2 separate regions of the Homo sapiens genome follow, and region 2 is linked to region 1. Evidence: promoter capture Hi-C in human tissues and cell types (Jung and others, 2019). All regions are on one chromosome and are shown on one strand. The core of a region is centred on a gene start or on the middle of the fragment in contact, and the rest is flanking DNA. Distances in the headings are between cores, read along the strand shown. Region 1 holds the start of HELT (helt bHLH transcription factor). Region 2 overlaps CFAP97 (cilia and flagella associated protein 97).

Region 1 (5,827 bases), core at 1,958-4,457:
CCTGAGAACTTAAACGGAGACCCCAGGGTCTCCATCCTGCACCAGTGTCCGAATGGTAAAGGATGGCGTGTAGGGAACAATCCCCTAAGGGGTGGGGAAGGGGCGTCTCCCAACCCGGCAGGTGCCGACCTCTCGCCGAGACGCCCAGCGCCCCCGAAGCTGGCCTGCTCTGTGCGCAAAAGGCAACGCCAGCTTCTCGGAAGCCTCTGGCGCTGAGCAGTTGTCATCAACGATGTTGTTTCTAATCCGCAACTCAGAACTGTACTTGGTTCCGGTATTTTTTAGAGGATTTTTAATTCTGTAAACTCAGCCACGCGCCCCGCTGGCCCGGGTTTCGCCGCATTCCAGACCCGCGGGCGTGCGGTGCGCGCGCGTCGGGCACTTGGCTCCGGGTAGGACGGGCGCCCGGGTCGCAGCTGGCAACGGTCCGCCTAAGTCAGTTTGGGGCAGGTCCTTCAATTTGCATTTTCCTGAGAGCCAAGGGCAGTGTTCTTCGCCTCCCCTGTTTCTCTGAGGCTAATGCTCAAGATGGGGCGGGTGCAGGAAGCCGCGAATCCCGCCCTTAAGCGATGCCTAGAATATCTGCCTGAACCTCCATTTAACGTCCCCCTCCCTCAGACTCCACAGCGGGCCCCTCACCAAGTTACTGAGGGCTGTTACCTTGAACCCTGTCAGCCTTGCGCCCTGGGCACCGCGGAGGGGACGGGTGTGGATGAGCAGAAGGTAATACATAAATCCCTCTCTTTGGGTCTTTATCAGAAAACGTTTATTACCAGGGGGAGATCCTTCAGAAGACTCATTCGCTCTTTGCCTCCCCCAGCCCAGATTTTTGGGGTACAATATTTACACATTATGTGTACAATATATACAGCATTTCTCCTAAAAGCGCCCAAAGCGAGGAGAAATCTGGCGGGCGAGTGGGCGTCAGAGCACCGGGGGGTGCTGGGGCGTGTGCAGGTTAAGGGCGTTGGGGTGCGCGTGGCCGATCAGGTTGAGGTAATGCCGGTCCAGGCCCTGCACCGGTGTCAGGAAGGGGCTGTGCTGCTGCGCTGGGCTAGCGAGCGGCACTGGCGCGCTGGGCAGGTAGGGCAGCGCGGGGCTGCGGGCCGCGCCAGGCGGCCAGGGGAAAGGCCCGGCACCAGAGCCCTGCGGGAACACAGCGGCCTCGCCCGGGCTGTGACCAGCGAATTCGGGCCCCGCAGGGTGCAGCTGATAGGAGAAATCCGGCTCCGGGAGCGAACCCAGCGGCGGAAAGGCGGGCTCCGCGCCCAGGCGGGCCTTGGACTGCAAGAAGGCGAGGATGCGCGCGTACTTCGTGTCCTTGGTCTCCATCCGCTCCACCGTGGTGAGGTAATGCACCAGGTTCTTCATGCACTCGTGGTAGCCATAGTGGAAGTAGTTGGCAAACTCCGCTAGAAGTTCTGCTGGAGGAACGAGAAAGCCCGTAGGACGGACACACCCTGAGTGCCCCTTCCCCACGCGAGCCCAAAGCGGGTGCAGGGCACCTCCCACCACATTTTCTGGCCAAAGTTCCCATTTGAGGCCCGCCCTCTCCTCTGCGCAGTCTTAGAGACTGGCGAGGCACGCGCAAACGCCCTCTTTCCCTGAGAGCCTGACCCCACCCACCCCACCCGGGAGAAGGAGGTGGAACCAGCCTCCCTGGGAACCAGTTCTCCCTCGCCGCCTTGCTGTCGCCGAGCAGGGAGAGGCGCCTTCGCAGGACCCCTGCCCTCCTGGAGAGTGGAGCTCTAGTAGAGCTCTCGGGAACACTCAGTCACTCCCCTCCCAGCCCCAGGGTCTCTGGGTGGCGCAGGCGCCTGGCCCAGGCGTCCCATTCCCTAACCTGTGCCCACCTTTTTCCCTTCCCCGGGGAAAATCAGCGGAGTGCAGTGCTCTCAGGTACTGAACGGTCATCTCGAGGATCTCCGCCTTCTCCAGCTTCCCGGAACTCTGCAAAAGGAGGAAGGGCCCCTCGCAGCGGCCCAGCGCCTGCTGGTCGGGCACTGTGGCGCTGGAGAGGACCAGCGAGCGGACGCGGCTGCGGATCTGCGCCAGAGCCTCCTGAGGTTCGCCCTGCGCTCAGGCCCCCCGCCTGGGAGGGGCCCGCAAGTGAGGTCCTCTGTGTCCGCGGGCTCGGGCGTCTCCGCAGAGTGGCCGCAGAGGCCTCCCAACGCCTGGCACCCGGCTCCGGGTCGCCAACGTTACCTGCTTCGCCAAGGCCATGGGCACTGTCTTGCCCAGCTCGTTCAAGCAGCGGTTGATCCTGTCCCTCCTCCGCTTTTCTATCACTTTATGAGAAACGGGGGTTCTCTGCGAAGAGAGGGTTGTATGTTTAGGATGGCTTTGCCCGGGAAGTCGTCAAAGGCGCGGCTCTAGCAGCTGGGTGCAAGCCGCCTCTCCAGCCGCGCACACTGCTCAGATTCGCTCTAGGAAGGGACTCCTGGCCCGCCACGCTCGGGCCAGGTGAGCTCTGCCTTCTGACGCCCGCGCTGGCGCGCTCCCCTTCCAGCCACCCTACCCAGGCCTTTGGGGAGGTGGCCGCCAGCCTCCAGGCAGGACTTCTACCTGGTTGAGCACCCTCCTCTCTCTACCCCACCCCCTTCCCAAACCACTCGAGATTCCTCCACACTCAAAGTCCCGTGCGGGCACTTCCCTGCCATCGGTCCACCCAAGTGGCGGGTCGGTGAGTCAGATGCCTCCACCACCAGGGCGCAAGTGCCATTTGGGCTCAGCCGACTCACTTTGCGTTCCTTGAGCTTGTCTGACATCCTGGTCAGTACGCGCCCTCGGGAGAGGCGGTGGCGCGGGGCACCCGTCCACTTTTCCGCCTCGTGTGCCTCCTCGAGTGTCCCAGGTAGACTGCAGCCTCCCAACTCCGAGGGCTGCCTTATAAAGCGGTCATCTAGGGCTCCAGATGCATTCACGAGTTGAATTATTCCATAGGATTAGGGGAGCTGCGTTTGGAGGATGTATGCATTCAAGATCAGTTTTAAAGAAGTTAAGAAAAAAAAAAAATTAGCAGCCGAGGGGGGCGAGCTGGGGGCAGATCAGCTTTGTTAATCCACGTGGCCCTTCAAAGGACACGTGATCGGCCCAGGAATAACATTTGCATGGCAACAGCTCGGGCGGGAAAAGGAGGCGGTAAACTGGGGCCGGCGGGCGAGCAAGCGCCTGCAGCAGTCGCGGGCGCGGAGCGCAGGGGCGCAGCGGCCGCGGGCACCGGGGGGCGAGGACCCTCACAAAACAGTGTCGCCTCTTTTAGTCCCACCGCTGAGTCTCACATGATCGCCTGTTTACAAATCCCAGCAAGCCCGCCGTCCCAGCGCCGAGTGCGTTTTAAAGCCTGTCCAGAGTCATTAAAGTAATTAAGTAAGCCTTTAATAGGCTGTTCCGCCGGGTTCAAGGGAGAGCTCTTGGAGACGGAGGCGCCCCGTTTGTTCCCAGGCTTTTCTCACACGACTTGGTGACACGTCCTTCTCCCCCCTTTTTGTTTACACCGCTTTATTTGTCCGGACATCCCGGCAGGTGTGGGGCTGCGGCTGGCACACGAGGCTCCCGCCTCGCCTCGCCTCGCCCCTCCCGCCGCTGTTTGGCACGCGACGCTCCCCCCTACTCCCTGACCACGTCGCTGGCTTTCTTTTCTCCCCACCCCTCCTGCTCCCTCTTCGCGGGGGGAAGAGGCTCAATTTGTAGCCTATTATCCTATACGAAAATGTCCATTGAAAAGTATGAATAGTTTCATTGGGCTAAATTTTAATAATGCCAGAGGGTGGGGGAGGAGAGACTGGCGGGCGTGTGTGTGTGTTTGTGTGTGAAGGGGCGGGTGGGAGGATTGGGGGGCAACACGGAGAAGAGTGGGCCGAGAAGAAAAGGGGGAATGCAGCTGGCCCAGGCAAGCATTATGCAACGTCACCTGCGAGAGGGGGCGCCTACAGACCCCTATTCATTTGCCTAATTTTGGTCAATTTAACAAACTTCAGGAGAAATTATTGTGGCTTTGTCAGGGAGGGTGAAGCCTTCTGATCGAATTAACAGCATGTTTTGATCCGGTAAATGTCATTAGAAAGGGAGAAACAATCGCGCTTAGAGGGCTCTGAGTAATGCGCCCAAGTGGAGACGCCAAAGCGCACGGCTCACAAAGGGAGCAAGTAGCTGCCACAGGGAACTTTTGTACCCGCCCATCGCCCAAGTTTTGACACAAAAAGGCATTATTTCATACTTGAATACGTTTAATCCAACGATTGTCTATTTTCTGCAAACATATTTTCACAGCATTGTTAACTTTTTATGTCTCCCTTTCGCTGGCGTCTTTTCTTAACGTTTGGGGGCGGGAGAGCGCAGACACTTTGGGCATCAATATTTGTCACTGAAAAGGGCCCTGTGAAGTTTGGGAAGTTGATCTCTTTTTTATGGTTTTAGAAAGCGAAAATATCGGGGGGAGGAGGAGGGAGGGAAGGCACGAACAGAAACGAGGGAGGAAATTTGCTGGACGGGCCCAAGGGGAAGGAGGGGGGCGGCGGCGGCTGGGAACTCTCTTGGCCGCCTGCGCCTCTGAGGGCAACCTGGCCCCGCGGCCAGAGGCCACCTCCCCCAGGACGGGCCTCGCTCACACTTGCTGCCTCGGATCCTATACTCTGGGGGCTCTGAGCTTGTGGGGTGTGGGTGGGGGGTGAGCTTTCTTGCAGATTGAAACGATAAAAATGATTTTTGTTTTATGGCCCTTTCTAGAGCCACCGAACTCTCACCTCTCTAATCTTTTCCATCTGGGAACAGCTGAGACCGCTTCTCAGATTTTTCTTCTTTTCTGCCTGCCCCTAACCCTGCCTAAATTCTCTCTGTTCTGCAGGGAGATGGCAGGGCCCAGCGCCCCCCTTGGGGTCGTTAGACCTTGGCAGGGGTGGGTAGGCGGCGCTCTTCTAGCTGGTGGGACCTGGGAGCCTCAGGGCGCAGAGCCAGGCCTGGGGTGCCAGGCCTCGGGGAAGCCATCGGCCCACCTGCTGCGGCCTGGGAGATGTGAGGGCTCGGTCTGCACCTCGCACCCCTAGGGTGTCCCTCTCGGTCCTGCCTCTAGTCTCCTCACGATGTTTCCTTTCTGCTTCACGCCAGATTGGACACGATCCGCACCCTCCCAGGTTGCTCTGCCAGCCGCGAGTGCCCTCTCAGGGGTTGTCGATTTCAGGATATTCACTCGCACACAAAGAGATTAAACGCGAACCCTTATCATCCAAATTAACTAACGTGAATGGGTAAAAAGGAGCGCGCACACTTCGCACTCCCACTCCCATTTTTAAGCCAGCGGCCCGGGCGTTGATCCTCTTACTGCCGGTGTTAACCGCCAGCTGCAGGCACCTTCCACGGACCACATTTCATTCCATGCACACTGTTTAATTTCCCGGGTTTGGTCTCGGCGCTTGGCTCAAGGCTTGCCCAGGGCTAAAAGTACCCGCGTGCAGGTGAGGGGGCAAGGGAAGGCCGGTGAGTGGAGACTTGGGCTCAGGGGCGCAGCCTCGCCCGGTCCTTGCGCGGCTGCAGCACTACCTGCGAAACCTGGAACGCCCTCCGCTTCAGGATAGGGAAGGACGTATTTCCTTTCTCCCTTCTCGGTCCGAAGGCCTGGGTCACACACGCTGCCCCAGAGTGGGGCGCCTCAGGGCTGTCTTCTCTTTGCTTCTCCTCAGGGTGAAGATCAGGAGTTCCCTGATCCTGGCCTAGTTTCCACGCAACATAAGAGCAGAGTAGGGAAGAGCCGAGGTTCGCCGGAGCCAGCCAGCCTGTTCAGATCCCAGCCCTACCGCCCACCAGCTGGGTGAGACTCGAGGCATCGTCC
Region 2 (5,827 bases), core at 2,219-4,718, 140 kb before region 1:
TTACTGATAACAGGGATCCAACTTAAAGTAAAAGTTGGAAAGGGCAAGAGTCTTTTAAGCGGAACTTCAATTCTGTTGTCATGGTTACTTATATATAATGAATATAAATAGACAAATAGGACTTGGAAAATGTGGTATATTCTAAGTCAAGATGCTATGAAGTTGTTATAGTTTAAGGGACATTCTTAAGAAGGAATTACTTAAGTACATTACTCTTCTCATTTCAAGGACATGAAAAAGTAAAGGATGGTCTGGCACTATTTTATTTTATTTTTTTTTTGACTTGTACTGAATATATGTACTTTGAAGATTTACATCTATAACTAGAAAGTATGCTAATCCGAGGTCTGGTTATTAGGCCAGATTCTTGTTCAGTTATTTTTTAAACTAATGTTGCCTCCTTTTTAGTAAGATTCTACGAAAGTTTTTTAACTATTAAAGTTATTTCTTAAGGGGTAGCTCTTATACTTCCTCTGCTCTCTTTTTCAGTTTCCATAAAAAGCTGTTTTCTTAGCTATTACTCCAAATAAAGTTCTTTGGTTTGCTTAAAAATGTAGTGTAATGCAGTTGTTTTCTCTCCGCTAACCTGAGTGTCCACAGTAGATATCGAGACAGCTTTAGGAAGGTGACGGTCATGGGTAAGTGACGGCTGTGCCTGTCATCTTCAGATTCTTCAAATACTGCAAACTATGAAACATGTTAAGACCAATATAAACCCAAAGATGTGAGTTGATTATACTTTAATAATTACATTCATAAAAAGTTTACTATCTTCAATGCCAAAAAAGTCTTAACCTATAAATGATTATATACAATCTTAGAAAATGTGCTTAACAGTTATGGCTTCTTTATTTCTATGAGGAAAGATTAGTAAGAAACTTAAAATTAACATCCTTTTAAGATTTTCTGTTCCATTTTAATGTATTTTAGGCATTTAGAACTAGCCTGGCATAATGAAGAAAGAAATAAAAGAATTAAAGATAACTGAGTTTTGATCCTATGTTTATCTCTAAAATGGGCTGTCTTGTTCCAATTTTCAAAATTAGAATAATTTTTACGTGCCTTACAAGACCAAGAATTAGTAGGAATAAAGTTGGAAGGATGATGTCAGTTATTTCTGTCTTTGAAAGTATTTACATGGAAAAGAGTTTGCTTAAAATTATATTCTTAATCAGAATTTCTTTAAACTACATCATCTAATTGCTTCTGTAAAATTATTATGGTACTACAATACAGTGGACACTCTTACAGCTTAAAGAAATGGGCTTGTTGTTGTTGTTGTTGTTTGTATTTTTGAGATGGAGTCTGGCTCTGTCCCCCAGGCTGGAGTGCAGTGGCACGATCTTGGCTCACTGCAACCTCCGCTTCCCAGGTTCAAGCGATTCTCCTGCCTCAGCCTCCTGAGTAGCTGGGACTACAGGCACACACCATCATGCCCGGCTAATTTTTTGTATTTCTAGTAGCGATGGGGTTTCGCCATGTTGGCCAGGCTGGTCTCGAACTCCTGACCTCAAGTGATCCGCCCGCCTCAGCCTCCCAAAGTGTTGGGATTACAGGTGTGAGCCACCGCGCCCGGCCAGGAAATATTTTTTAAAAGGAGTCATGTATGTCATGTACATTGATGTACATGAAATGTACGTCAACATTTCATATGTATTCTATATAATAAACACACTAAAGCTTGCTGCAAAACATCAGTTTAGGAATTTTTTATGAGGGTTTAATAAAACTAGCGCCATTGGAATAAATTCCCGAGTAGCCCCTGCAGTAGCGTATCTGAGCTCTCAACAGCAAAGAGCAAGAATGCTAGAGCAAATAGGATTGTGTTATGGCAGAAAATTTTATTTGATTTTTCAGTTCTGGTGATGGATTTTTAATTCATTTACAGATATCTCTGGAGCCACCATAATAGACTCTTAAGATTCTGTGCTTCCATTTCAAAATTTAGTTGGTAAATCCAGGTAAGTTGCACTATTTGCCCTAGATGACATTTGTGAGGTTTAACTGTTTTACAAAATAAAACTTAGGAGGTAACATCATTATTTTACTATAATGAGACAGGGTTTTTTCACATGGCTCTAATCCACAATTATAAGATAGTAAAAGAATTTGAGGCCGGGTACGGTGGCTCACTCCTGTAATCCTAGCACTTTGGGAGGCCGAGGCGGGCAGATCACGAGGTCAGCAGTTCGAGACCAGCCTGGCCAATATGGTAAAACCCTGTCTCTACTAAAAATATAGAAATTAGCCACACATGGTGGTGCGTGCCTGTAGTCCCAGCTACTTGGGAGGCTGAGGCAGCAGAATTGCTTGAACCCAGGAGGCAGAGGTTGTAGTGAGCTGAGATCACACCACTGCACTCCAGCTTGGGTGACAGAGCGAGACTCTGTCTCAAAAAAAAAGAATTTGAAGAGTCACCAAAAAATGATTAAAAACTATGGTGCTAAATTCTTACAGGATATATATTACAATGAGAGTCTTCACCAAAAAACCACACATCACATTTATTTCATACATTTTGGAATTATAGCTAGTCTCCAAAGTTTGGAGGGTGCTTTGTTCTTGATTTGATTCTGAGAATCTGTTTTATGAAGAACATATGCAGCATTAAGCAAATATATCTGCTTCCCACATAGTTACCTATACAAACTAGAAAAATCTAATTCTACCATTAACTACGGTCTTCTCTTTTAACATTTGAGTGTAGTTTTGCCTGTTTTTGAGTTTCATATAAATGGGAGTATGTTCTCGTGTATGACTTTTTAGCTCAACATCTTTATGTTTGTGAGATTCTTTGATATTGTTGCATGTAGCTAGAATTGGTTCGTGTTGATTTTTATGTAGTATTCTGGTACTTGACTATACCATGATTTATTTTATCTATTATGTGGTTGATGGATATTGTGGGTGGTTTCCAGGTTTTGACTATTACAAATAATGCTAATGTGAGGATTTTTGTAAATGTGCCTTGGTTGATCTGTGTGTACTTTTTAGCTGGGCATGCACCTAGCAGTGGAGTTGCTGGCTCAGAGGTGTGCTTGTGTTTAACAGATAATGCCAGAGTTGTCCACAGTGAGTGTAACAGCTCATTCTTCCACGAAAGTGTGTAAGTTTCTGTTGCTCTAGAGACTCATTAATATTTATTATTGTCAGTCTTTTTTTCTTTTTCTTTTTCTTTTTTTTTTTTTTTTTTGAGCCTGGGTCTTGCTCTGTCACCCAGGCTGAAGTGCAGTGGCACGATCATGGCTCACTGCAGCCTTGACCTCCCTGGCTCAAGCGATCCTCCCATGTCAGCCTCCCAAGTAGCTGGGACAACAGGCATGCGCCACCATGTCCAGCTAATTATTGTATTTTTTTGTAGAGATGGGGTTTCACCGTGTTGCCCAGGCTGGTCTCGAACGCCGGGGCTCAACCAATCCTCCCGCCGAGGCCTCCCAAAGTACTTGGGATCCCAAAGGGATTCCATATGTGAGCCACTGCAACTGGACTTTCAGTCATTTTTTTCAAAGTTTTAACTATTCAAGTGGATATTTAATATATCTCATTGTGATTTTAATTTTATTATTTTGAGTAATAATTAGAACACTTTTTAAAAAATTTTCAACTTTTATTTTAGATATAGAGGGTACATATGCAGGTTTGTTACATGGGTATATTGTACCCAGGCAATGAGCATAGTACCAACAGGTAGTTTTTCAGCCACGTCCCATTCCTTCTCTTCCCTATCTAGTAGTCCACAGTGTCTGTTCCCATGTTCGTGTCCATGCATGCTCAGTGTTTAGCTTCTACTTATAAATGAGAATATGCAGTATTTTATTTTCCGTCTCTGTGTTAATTTGCTTAGGATTATGGCCTCCAACTCCATCCATGTTGCTGCAAAGGACATGATTTCATTCTTTTTATGGCTGTGTCATATTTCTTGGTGCACATGTACCACATTTTCTTTATCCAGTCCACCACTGAAGGGCACCTAGGTTGATTCCATGTCTTTGCTATTGTGAATAGCATGGAGATGAACATACAATTGCATGTGTCTTTTTGGAATAAGGCTCTATTTTCCGTTGGGTATATACCCAGTAATGGGATTGCTGGGTCAAATGGTAGCTCTGTCCTAAGTTTTTTGAGGAATCTCCAAACTGCTTTCCGCAGTGGCTGAACTAATTTACATTCCCGTCAACAGGTATAAGCATTCCCTTTTCTCCACAGCCTCTTCAGCATCTGTTGTTTCTTGACTTTTTATAATAGCCATTCTGACTGCTGTGAGATAGTATCTCATTGTGGTTTTGATTTGCATTTCTCTAATAGTGACAATGAACATTTTTTCATGTTTCTTGGCCACTTATGTGTCTTTTGAGAAGTGTCTGTTCATCTCCTTTGCCCATTTTTTTTTTTAAGACAGAGTCTTGCTCTGTGGCCCAGTGCTCTGCACTGGAGTGCCGTGGTGCGATCTCAGCTCACTGCAAGCTCCGCCTCTCGGGTTCAAGCGATTCACCTGCCTCAGCCTCCCAAGTAGCTGGGAATACAGGTCTGCACCACCATGCCCAGCTAATTTTTGTATTTTTATTAGAGATGAGGTTTCACCATGTTGGCCAGGCTGGTCTCAAACTCCTGACCTCAAGTGATCTGCCTGCCTTGGCCTCCCAAAGTGATGGGATTACAGGTATGAGCCACTGTGTCTGACCATTTTGCCTTTTTTTTTTTTTTGAGACAGAGTTTTGCTCTGTTGCCCAGTCTGGAGTGCAATGGTGTGATCTCGGCTCACTGCAGCCTCCGCTTCCGGGTTCAAGCGATTCTCCTGCCTCAGCCTCCTGAGTAGCTGGGACTACAGGCGTGTGCCACCACTCCCAGCTAATTTTTATATTTTTAGTAGAGGTGGGGTTTCACCATGTTGGCCAGGATGGTCTCGATCTCCTGGCCTCATGATCTGCCCGCCTCGGCCTCCCAAAGTGCTGGTATTACAGGCTTGAGCCACCACTCCCGGCTGATTTTGCCTATTTTTTAATGGGATTATTTTTTGCTTGTTGATTTAAGCTTCTTATAGATTCTGGATATTAGTCCTTTGTCAGAAGCATAGTTTGTGAATATTTTCTCCCATTCTGTAAGTTTACTCTGTTGATAGTTGCTTGTGCTGTGCAGAAGCTGTTTAGTATAGTAAGGTCACACATGTCAATTTTTGTTTTGTTGCGGTTGCTGTTGAGGACTTAGCCAAAAATTCATTGCCAAAGCTGATGTTTAGAGGGGTATTTGCTAGATTTTTCTCTAGGATTTTTTTTTCCCCCTTGAGACAGGGTCTGGCTCTGTCACCTAGGCTAGAGTGCAGTGGCTCACTGCAACCTCCGCCTCCCTGGTTCAAGCGATTCTCCTGCCTCAGCCTCCTGAGTAGGGAGCCACCACACCCAGCTGATTTTTATATTTTCAGTAGAGTTTCTCCATGTTGGCCAGGCTGGTCTTGAATTCCTGACCTCAAGTGATCCACCCGCCTCAGCCTTCCAAAGTGCTGGGATTACAGGTGTGAGCCACTGCGCCTGGCCTCTTCTGGGATTTTTATAGTTTGAGGTCATACATTTAAATATCGAATCCATCTTGAGTTAATTTTTGTACATGGTGAAAGGTATGGGTCTGGTTTCAATCTTCTGCATATGGCCAGCCAGTCATCCCAGCACCATTTACTTAATAGGGAATCCTTTTCCCACTGCTTGTTGGTGATGGCCTTGTCGAAGATGAGATGGTTGTAGGTGTGAAGCTTTATTTCTGAGTTTTCTCTTCTGTTCCATTCTATTCTACTCTGTTTTTGTACCAGTACCATACTATTTTGGCTACTATAGCC

Evidence for each region. The method cuts DNA at HindIII sites, captures the fragments that hold promoters and counts their contacts. A contact is called where the count stands out against the background at its distance.
Region 2: a fragment that was not itself captured here is called in contact with the fragment with the promoter of HELT in region 1 in 2 of the 25 tissues and cell types used here (bladder and liver).

What each region holds. Positions count from the first base shown.
Region 1 is chr4:185,015,870-185,021,696 of GRCh38, reverse strand. It overlaps HELT (helt bHLH transcription factor), which reads right to left and starts at 3,207. Exons shown (of 4, transcript NM_001300781.2): 1 at 2,742-3,207; 2 at 2,206-2,310; 3 at 1,854-1,950; 4 at 744-1,424. The coding sequence starts at 2,768. The coding sequence ends at 925. RefSeq lists enhancers at 1-575, 576-1,503, 2,218-2,797, 2,798-3,376, 3,377-3,957. The HindIII fragment of the contact is 22,587 bases long and covers 1-5,827 here.
Region 2 is chr4:185,154,822-185,160,648 of GRCh38, reverse strand. It overlaps CFAP97 (cilia and flagella associated protein 97), which reads left to right. Exons shown (of 5, transcript NM_020827.3): 5 at 1-984. Among named protein-coding and RNA genes, the nearest start is that of SLC25A4, 14 kb to the right of the region's middle. The HindIII fragment of the contact is 5,742 bases long and covers 598-5,827 here.